Linked DNA regions of Homo sapiens: region 2 is linked to region 1. The links are contacts of gene promoters, found by promoter capture Hi-C in blood cells and fetal thymus (Javierre and others, 2016). All regions are on one chromosome and are shown on one strand. Each heading gives the region's core, a stretch centred on a gene start or on the middle of the fragment in contact. The rest is flanking DNA. Distances are from core to core; before and after follow the strand shown.

Region 1 (5,200 bases), core at 1,059-3,558:
TGAACACAGTGGGCATTTGGAAGTCACCTCTGGATGGTCCCAGGTGCATTTCTCCACACCCAGGGTTGTCCCCTCCATGTTGGAGTTGCATCTTCTGCTTAAAGATTCTCAGAGGGTTCAAGGAGGGGGGTAGGAGGGGAACCTCCTTCCGCCCTGAGTCTCCCCCACCCCACAGCTGAAGCCCAGCTCCAGCCTCAGATTATTTTCTGGACAAAAGGGCCTTTTGCTTCACTTCCCTGGAATCAGTTGTACAAATATTTTTAATCGCCTCCGAAATCGGCCTTTCCCCAGGCTCAGCCACCCTGCCCCCAGCTCTCCTGTGAGTCAGTGCAGTCCAGTTGCTGAACCTCCCTCCTCCCTCCTTCTCTCTCCAGGGGGCGCAGAGGCCTGGTGGGCTCAGAGGCTCAGAGGCCCAGAGGCCCAAGCAGCCCTGACTGGTTTCCCCCAGCAACAAGTGGCTTCATCCAGCAACCGGGGAGACAGCCAGGCCTTCTCACTTCTCCAGAGCAAAACTCCCTTCCTCGCTCCAGCATCATCCACACACAAGCCTGAGACCCCCTCCACCCACCAGGGCCAAGGATACCGCACTGGAAAGAGAGCTCCAGCGCGTCACAGGGCCAACCAAACTCAACACTGACCCATGGCCAATGGCTGTCTTCAAGGGTGCTGTGACCAGGGCACTCTTCAGGGAGGTTCCCCCAGGGATACCACAGAGCACTTGCCTTCCTCCCATCCCACACACTCAAGAGCCTATAGGGAAAGACGATGGCCCGACTGACAGCCTTCCTGCCTCCACTCCTATCGGTCTCTCCCAGTCCCTGGTTAGGTCCCACTGTCTCACCCCTCTGTGCAGGGCGCTCAGGCGTTTACCCCATCGATAAGAAGGCGCACAGGAGACGCCTGTGCCTGGAAGGAGCGGCCTCAGTGTGTAGGTTGGTGGGGGGTGGGTTGGGGTTCCTCGAACCTCAGCCTAGACACCCCACCCCTATCCCCCTGCCCCTGCCCCGCACCAAGACCAGGCATTTGGGCCAAAATGCCCTGAGCTCTCTGAGACTTGGAAATCTTCAAGGGTCTGCTCTGGAATGTCACTCTGGAATGCGCCCCACCCCCCAATGCACTCCCTCCCCCAGTCCAGTTGAAGGCACAGGGGTGGGGGGCCGGCGGGGAGAGGAAGCTCCAGGAGCACAAAACCCTACTTCCAACAGTCTCCTCTCCCGGGCTTTAGGATCTTGATCGTGGAGTTTGTAAGTGATTGGGTCTTCCAGCGTGTAACACTGCGGGCCTGGGGATGGAGGTGCAAAGGACGCTGGAAAAGCCAGCCGGGAGTGGGGGTTCGGGATCTAGGGGCCAGGCTACCAGAAGGGGAGGCGCTTTGATAGTCTGAATTTCCAAACTTCCCTCAGGGGGATTCTGAACCCTCTCGTCCCTACTTGGGTCGACGGTACTGGGGTCTACACCTGCGCTCCCTGGGTGGCTGGAATGGGGAGCAAGGGAACCAGTCACTCTCTCCCATTTTTAGGGCCACAGAAACCTGCCCTCCACATCCACAGTAGCAGGCGGCAGAGAGGACGCCACCCACGAGAGAGAGTGACCGCGGACTCCCACCGAGAGGCAGGCGGTGGAGGGGCTCCTCTTGGAGACCCCGATTATGGAGTGGTTTCCCCTCCCTCCAGCCCGAGCCGCAGCGCCGGGCTCCCCCACCCCCCCAGTCCCCAGCCGGCTCGGGTTTGAAAACTTTCAGCGACCGAGCGGAGTTGGCGCGGCGTCCCCAGCCCGCAGGATGTCCAGTCCCCCCGCCTCTGCCCTCGCCCACTCCCCGCCGTCCCGACCCGACTCTTCCGGGCGGCGGAGCGGGAAGGCAGCAGCCCTTACCTGGGACTCGCCGCCGGCCCCGCTCCAGCGCAGCGTTTGGGGCCAACTCCAGCCCCAGGCGGGGGGCGGGCGGGGGTGGGAGGGACGCGGCGCGGGGCGCTGGGCCAGGCCCGGTCCTGGCTGGGATGGCGGGGCCCGGGCCGGGACGCAGGGCCTGCCTCTCCCTGGGACCGAGGCTGAGCCAGGCGCGCTGGGTTGCTCGCTCTCGCGCGGGCCTGTCCCCAGGCAGGGCTCCTTGCTTTCGGCGAGGGTGGGCTGGAGCCTGCATCACCGTTACATCACCTCCATTCAGGGCGCTAATCGGGCGCCCGCCGCGCTCCAGGTACGTGCGCTCCGTTTACACAGGAACAAAGCCTGCCCGGCCCTCCCCGCCCCGACTCACCTCCAGGCTGAGCCGACTCGTACTTTCCGGCTGGTGAGGGAGATGGGAGTTTCTGGCCCTGCCGGCGTGTGGGTTGTTGCTGTTGACTGCCACGCCCCCGCATGCGGGCGCGCGCACACTCACGCGCACTCACTTTCTGGGCTCGGCCTTCGCCGGGGCAATTGGTGTGAGGGTGCAGCCCTGCGCACCCCCCACCGCGTCTTCCAGAGAGCGCGCCTACGGACACGCGCGGGGCTACCTTGGCGCGTCTCCGTGGGGGACACCTAGCCTTTGTCACCTTCGTCCTGGCCCTCCCGTGAGACACACTTCAGGCACAGTTCGCTGGGAGCGGGCCGGAGCGAGGCGCACACTCAAGACAGAGTCCGTCTTTGTCACGCCTTCTGCGCCCCCTCCCCTCCCCAGCTTGCACACGTGGACACACCGCACACCGAGGTTCGCCTTTTGCACGCACGGTCCTTCTCTGGGACCTCCACCAGTCACCAAGCGTACGTGGGATCGTCACCAAGCGCTCCTCTCACGCGTGGGCCGAGTCCAGACCACTCTGGACCGTGGGCAAAGGTCCCCCTCGGCCCGACTACCCCGCGCCCGGGTTTCCTGTGACCGTTCCAGGTTCTGCCCAACTCGGAGCGCGCTCTCCCCTCCCGGCGTCCCCGTTCCCTGCTCCGACTTGTCCTAATTAGCCTTCACGGTTTTGTTCCCCGAGGTACAGTGTTTAGCGCGACCCCCTGGGCCTCTGCGCTCCGGGACACGTTGGCTCTGACTCCGAGTCCGTCCTTTCCAGGAGGTCAGGTTCCCACCAGCCCCACCCCCCACTCCCTGTTCCGGGGTGGATCTGTGGGTTGCCACCCTTTCCCCTCCGGCCCCAGGAATCTGCTGAAGCTGGACCGCAGAAATTGGGAAGCGAATCCAGGCTGGTACTTATCCAGCCCGATAAACAAGAGATTTTCCGGCCGCCTTCCCCCGGGGCTGCTGGCCTCGCGGGGGGTGGGGTGCGCAGTCCTGGGGGCCCGCAGCGAGGCCTAGTTAGCCCGCGCCAGAGGCCCGTAGGGGCTGAGGCGCACAGAGGAGGGAGAGGTTGTTGGGCCTGGCCAGGGCCCTGGAGACGCGGAGGGAGGGCAGGGCGCCGAGTCTCGGGGTGCCGGTTCTCATGACGCCGAATTGCCTGGGGGATCGCCAGCGGTGCGCCGGTCGGAGCCAGCTGGTGGCGGGGCGGGCGGCCCGGAGTGTTTGCTCAACCCTGAGCGCCCGCGAGGGGGAGGGGAGGCAGCTGGTCACGGGCTAGGGGGTAGCAAGGTGGAGGAGCGGGGGCTGGGAAAGGGGAGGGTATCTCCCGGGCTGCTTGTTTGCGTGCCTGCCGCGGTCTACGACAACCGGGAGTCTAAACTCTATGAATCACCCGGAGTTGCTGGAGCGATAAACCTCAGGCTGGTTCCTCCCCTCGCACACCGGCTTCTCGGACTCCTGGAGGGAATGTTTGCTTAGCGGCCGGAGCTGGCGGTGAGGCCCTGGTTCTCTAGAACCCTGTATCCCTTCCTGGCCTTGCCCTCACGGGCTGGTCTGGGGTGGCGAAGACTGAATTGTTTCAAGTCTCTTCAATATTAAGAAGAGGGGCGCAGTGCTGCTGCTGATCTGTTGCTCACTCCTGGGCTCCCTTCCGTAGCTCCACCTCCCACCCTAAGATTCAGAGGCCCCCATGCCAGGGAGGCAAACGCTTGTAGGGTCCAAGCAGTTGAGTGCCAACGCTAGAAAGGCAAACGGCGGGTCAGACCTAGGCGAGGGGCATCCGTGACTGTGGGCTGGGACTAGTTCTCGTGAAGCAGGCAACTGGTGCTGAACACAGTGTGCTGGGAGGGGCCGCTCATTAGCATATGTGAAAAGCCAGCTAAGAGCTAGAGGAAGGTGGAATGGAAATAGTCCCCGAGACTGCTTGTGACCTTAAGAAGCCAAAGATGAATTGTGGATCTGGCAGATCTGTTTCAATTTATTTTCAAGCTTTGGGAATCTCTTTTCCCTACCTAGATTCTCCAAAAAGGCAACTCTTTACCACTCCCTCCCGACCCAGGCGGGGGAAAGGCTGGGGCATCTGAGGCCTGGACGGAGCAGCGGAGCCCTGCCCACTGCCAGCCCTGCATGGTAGATGGCGGCGGATATGTAGGGAGGTTTCCTGAGAGCTGTTTGCTCTTTTTGTGTTCACTCCGTCTCACTTCCTGGGCAGGATTTGCCTTTAAAGGACAAAGCAAGTCCTTTGGGGCCGATGACATGGGCTTCAGCCTTCAGGGTCCCTGTTGGTCTCTGCTCTAGTCCCGGGGGCCTGTGCTGGTCCAGAGTGGGGAGGCAAGAGTTGGAGAAGGCATGAGACCCCTCCACCATGAGTCAGACCCTGGTGGGGGCTGCTGGACCCAGCGAGCCTGTGATGCTGGAAGGGAAGTTCTGTGGGAGGTGGCGCTGCTTTCCGAGACTCCAGCCACAGGGTCCTCTGTGCCCCCAAATGTCCTTCACTTTGATTTAATACCCCAGTAGGCGTAGAACCCATTGCAAACTCTGTTTTCACCAAAAAACTACACTCTGAGAAGTGTTCAAAGAGTGCTACTGTTCAAAGAGATCTTGAGGCCCAGCACAGTGACTCACGCCTATAATCCCAGCATTTTGGGAGTCCTAGGTGGGAGGATCGCATGAGCCCAGGAGTTGGAGACCAGCCTGGGCAACATAGACTTCATCTCTATTGAAACAAACGAAAAAGAAAATAGATATGGGGTCTCACTGTGTTGCTCTGGCTGGTCTTGAACTCTTGAGCTCCAGCGATCTTTCCGCCTCGGCCTCCCAAAGTGCTGGGATTCCAGGTATGAACCACTGCGCTCAGCCTATTTATTTTATTTTTTTTAATATATGAAATAAAAAGGAAAAAAAAAGATTCTGGATTGCGGAGAAGCATGTCTGTGTCCACCA
Region 2 (5,200 bases), core at 1,214-3,713, 210 kb before region 1:
TCAATGCTCAAGGCCTAAGGGATAAAACTAATGCTACATTCCTCTTCCCTGATGTTCTGTATTCACTCATTTTCTAGGATTTGTCCTTAAAATTTGAGTTTTTATTTTGATAGATGGCGAATGGCAGGAAAGGAGGAGGAAGAGGGTGACGGAGAGGTGAGGAGAGAGGGCTAGGGGCTGCCTGCAACTTCAGCCTGGTGGCTTGGTTGCCTGGTGGCCCCAACGGTGGGTTCTTGGATCAAGTGTGGTGATGTTTTCTGGCTGCTGCTGGGTCAGATGGGAGCCAACTGTTCCCAGAGGCTAAAACCACAAACAGGACAGTCCATGGAGGCTCCGTGCCCCTTAGGGACCTAGAATCCTGACGGGTCTAGCTGAGGGCTCTTGGCATGGCTGGCCAGGAAGAGGGAACTTGTTTCTGATTCTCAGCAGGCAGAATCCTGTGGATGAAGTTATTCTGTCTCTATCGATATGAGCTCTGGAGCAGCTCAGCTCTGGAGCTGTGAAAGCCTGGCACACGCACACCCACCCTCGCTTCCCTCTCTCATCAGCCATCACTCTTCACTCAGTACTCAGTGGCTGTGATAGCCCAGGAGGCCCAAGCTCAGCCCCATCCTTCTCAACTCACTTTTCCAGGCACACCTCCAACTGATTGGAGGGGACAAAAGTACATTTTTCCATCCCTGGGAAATGCAACGTGCCAGGCACTATCACCCACTGGATGCTAGGTTTCAGCTTCAGGCGAGGCAGTGAGAACCCTCCTCAGCTGCTACCCTCCCCTGCCCTCCCCTCTCCCTCCTTCCCCATGGGATCTGTAGGGCCCGCAGCTCTGCATTGGCTTTGCTCAGACACACCAGCCTCAGGGTGCAGCTGCTATGCACTGGGGGACTGCACTGCCTCTCCTGTCACTGTGAGTCCTGGCATCTTAGTTCTCAAACATGCAGTTGAGTCAAGAAGAATGATGGCCATTCCTTCATCTCCTGACTTTTAGGATCTGGGCTAAGCTAGGACACAAACCAGGCTCAGAAATGAGGCTTTGGCTCCTGGCACCCACAGCTCTGGATTTGCAGGACAGATAAGACACGGAGCCTGCCCCGGAGCTCTTTCAGCCAGCTTCCCCACAGACAGCAGTTGGAGCTGCTGGGCCAGGCTTTGCTGGGTCCATTTAGCTTGGGGCATCTGAGAGGGGACGGTGGTGTCCTTTATCTCCAGGACTCCCACAGAGCCAGTGGACTCTGCAGCTGGGCTCTGGGTGCCTTGTGGCCGTCCTTGGGAGGTTGCCACTTGACCAAGGGAAGGAGATGGAGAGACAGCCTGAGATTTGGGGTGTGTAGAAGCTTCTCCCTCTGATTGCCCTGAATTTAGGTGAGATTTCAGTGGCATTGGAAATCTAAACTTAGGTTTGGAAAGGAGTTTCAGGCCAGGTGCGGTGGCTCATGCCTGTAACCCCAGCACTTTGGGAGGCCAAGGCAGGCTGATCACCTGAGGTCAGGAATTCGAGATCAGCTTGGCCAACATGGCAAAACTCCATCTCTACTAAACACACACACACACACACACACACACACACACACACATCAACTGGGCATGGTTGTGGGCACCTGTAATCCCAGCTACTTGGGAGGCTGAGGCAGGAGAATCGCTTGAACCTGGGAGGTGAAGATCGCAGTGAGCTGAGATTGCACCACTGCACTCCAGCCTGGGCGACAGAGTGAGACTCCGTCTCTGAAAAATAGAAAAGACTGGAGTTTCAGAGTGTGGTGGCCCTCCTGGGAGGACCCAGGGATGTGTGATTGTGCCATACAGTTTATGCATCTGGATAATAATAATAATACCTACTTTGTTTGACTTGCACGGGATTTAAGCAAAGTAATAACAGAAAGCATCTAAAGTGGTCTCTGAAACAAAGTAAACTCAGTAATTCTTAGCAATTATTATGTCTCTGGCCATGGCTGGCAGACCCTGGACCTGAACCTGGGTAGCAAATGTCACACTGCCCTGCTCTTGTTCTTTTTCTTTTTCTTTTGTGACAGAGTCTCTCTCTGTTGCTCAGGCTGGAGTGCAGTGGTGTGATCTTGGCTCACTGCAACTGCCACCTCACAGGTTCACGCGATTCTCCTGCCTCAGTCTCCTGAGTAGCTGGGACTACAGGTGCCTGCCACCATGCCCAGCTAATTTTTGTATTTTTAGTAGAGACAGGGTTTCACATATTGGCCAGGCTGGTCTCAAACTCCCGACCTTGTGATCCACCCACCTCGGCCTCCCAAAGTGCTGGGATTACAGGGGTGAGCCACTGCACCTGGCCCCTGCACTTCTTTAATATTGTGCCTGGAAGGTGCTGGGCATGGAGTGGATGTTGCATGACTGCTTCTTGCAGAGCCTCAAGAGAGCAGGGAAGGCTGGGCTTCCCAAGTAGACTTAAAGGATTGTGTGTTTGTGCTTTTGTTTTTGGGGTATTTGTTCATTCATTCATTCATTCATTCAAGAAAACTATATAGAGCATATATTGTGGGCACTGGATGTTGGAAATGCAATGGTGAGCAAAGAAGACCCATTTCTTGCCTTCTTGAGGCTTATAGCCCAGTAGGGGGAGACAGACATTAATCAAATGTGCACCAATAAATGTCCCATTACAACCACCATAGAAGAAGGAGGTGCTCTGGGAACTTCCATTAGGGGCATTGATTCAACTGGGCTCCAGCGATGTCTCACCCCATCCACTTCCCCCACATGGCCTAGCCCACCGTTGTCTCACACCTGGAAGGCTACAATTGCTTATTCATGTCTCCCAGTTTCCTGCCTTACCTCTGTCAATTGTTTTTTCCTCGCAGCAGCCCGTGTGATCCTTTTAAAGTAAGCCAGGTCACGTAATTCTCCAATGGCTCCCTGCATCATTCAGAGTCAAATCCAACTCCCTATTAAGGCCTATGGGCCCTTAAATGATGACTCTGTTTCCTTTCTGATCTCGTCTCATTCCACTCTTGCCCTCATTCCCTCTTCCTGAGCCATGGTGGCCTCTGCTCCCACCCCAGGACTTTTGCACAGCAGCCCCCTCTACCTTGCACTCTTTTTTTTTTTTGAGATGGTGTCTCCTGTCACCCAGGCTGGAGTGCAGTGGCGCGATCTCGGCTCACTGCAGGCTCCGCCCCCTGGGGTTCACACCATTCTCTTGCCTCAGCCTCCCGAGTAGGTGGGACTACAGACGCCTGCCACCTTGCCCAGCTAATTTTTTGTATTTTTAGTAGAGACGGGGTTTCACCGTGTTAGCCAGGATGGTCTCGATCTCCTGACCTCGTGATCCGCCCACCTTGGCCTCCCAAAATGCTGGGATTACAGGCGTGAGCCACCGCACCCGGCCTACCTTGCACTCTTCACCTGCAGCTGTCAGTGTGGCTCCCACCCTTCTTTCAGGTCTCTGTTAAAATAAGATAACACTTTATCATAGATACCTTCTCTATAGATATTAATACAATAGCATTTGCCTCCCCTCACTCCCTCTACCCTTTTTGTCTTCGGGGCACTTATGACCACCTGGTACATTTTATATGTGTTTATTTTCTCCTCTCCCCCTCCCCCTAGGAGAATGTAAGCTTCCTGAGGACAGAAGCTTGATTTGTTTGTTGCTGCATTCCAGCACCTAGCACGGTATTTGGCATGTAGTAGGTGTCCAGTAAATATTTGTTGAGTTGAATGAATGATAATTTATTTGAGATTTGGAGGAAGAGTATGAGTTAACCAAGCAAAGAGAGGAAAGGAGCATTTTAGGCCCAGGAAACAGTGTGTGAACAGTCACTGTAATCAAGGGAATGTGTTCTGTCTGAGGAACCAAAATCTTTGTGGTTGCCCCTTGGGGATTAAGTGGGAGGTTATTATGGCTTGAGGCTTGGGAGGTCAGCAGGGGCCAAACTGAGGTCCAGTAGAGGAGTTGTAAGAGCCCTGGGAGGCTGTTAATGTTTCTTACAGGGGGAGTGGCAAGATCAGATTTGTTTGCAAAAATACCATTCTGGCTGCACAGTGGCGAAAAACTAAGAGTGAACGTGGGCAGACCACCTGGGAGGCTATTGACAGACGATGGTAGCTTGGGCTAGGTTGGCAGAGAAGGAGATAGAGAGATGGACAAATCTGAGAGCTTTAACAGGAGGCAACATTGAATGGGCTCCAGGCAGGACAGAGTGTGGGGATGAAGACACAGAGGGGTCAGGGATGAAAACTAGGAAACAGTGTAAGGTGATGGGACTCCTTTCTGGAGGGCATAATTGTGAGTTTACTTTGGACTTGTTGAGTTGGATGCATCTTTGAGACGGCTCAAGTGCAGATATCAAGGAGAGGGATGGCAAGGAGGTCTGAGGTTAGAAGAATGTTTGGACTGGAGATTGAGTTTTCCAGGAATCTGCTCAAAATGGTTTTTAGACCCAGGCTCTGACTGACTTTGAGGATAGTTATCTTGGGATCTGTAGCTTTATGTCTTGCTGAAACTGGGAAAATTTTAGCCGTTATGTTTTCAAATACCTTTTTGCAACTCTGCTTTCTTTCTTTTCTTCTTCTGGAACTTCAATGACATGAATGTTTGCTCTTTTATTACAGTCCCACAGCTACCTAAGGCTCTGTTCATCTTTTAAAGTCTATTTTCTCTCTTTTGCTCAGATCAGACAATTTCTATTGTTCTGTGTTCAAGTTCACCGATTCTTTCCTCTGTCCTCTCCCTCCTGATGTTGAGCCCATTAGCTGAATTTAAAAAATTTAGTTATCATATTTTTCATTTGTAAAATGTCCACTTGCTACTTCTTTGTGTCTATTTCCTTGCTGAGATTTTCTATCTTTTCATATATTTCAAGCATGTTGAGGAGATTGCCATAGCATTGTGTTTGAACACTTGCTTGTCAAGTAGTTGCTGCTTATCATCTCAGTTTCTTTCTTAAAAGAAAAAAAAAAGCAGTAGAATAAACAATGATTGCAGGTGTGAATGGAGACCACCATAAGAAGAGATAGGGAGGCACCAAAGCAGAAGGCAGAGCATGCAGCACTTGCTCTCTGTAGCATGGTCAGCCCAGAGTCTAGGAGGACTGGGCTGTATAGAGGGGAGAGCAGAGCTCAGTAGGCAGAACCATGAAGCTGCTTTTCACCACCTTCCTTCTCTCTCTTCTAGTTGCCTGGGGCAGAAGTGTTGATGGAGAAGTGGGTTAACATAGTAAGTATGTGGGGG

What was found. The method cuts DNA at HindIII sites, captures the fragments that hold promoters and counts their contacts. A CHiCAGO score of 5 or more calls a contact.
Region 2: a contact is called between a fragment that was not itself captured here and the fragment with the promoter of GPRC5C in region 1, in 1 of 17 cell types (neutrophils). The highest score is 5.3, in neutrophils.

The regions. Positions count from the first base shown.
Region 1 is chr17:74,429,196-74,434,395 of GRCh38, reverse strand. It overlaps GPRC5C (G protein-coupled receptor class C group 5 member C), which reads right to left and starts at 2,308. Exons shown (of 4, transcript NM_022036.4): 1 at 2,255-2,308. RefSeq lists a silencer at 3,296-3,435. The HindIII fragment of the contact is 4,765 bases long and covers 1-4,248 here.
Region 2 is chr17:74,643,863-74,649,062 of GRCh38, reverse strand. No RefSeq gene overlaps it. Among named protein-coding and RNA genes, the nearest start is that of CD300E, 23 kb to the right of the region's middle. The HindIII fragment of the contact is 2,253 bases long and covers 1,337-3,589 here.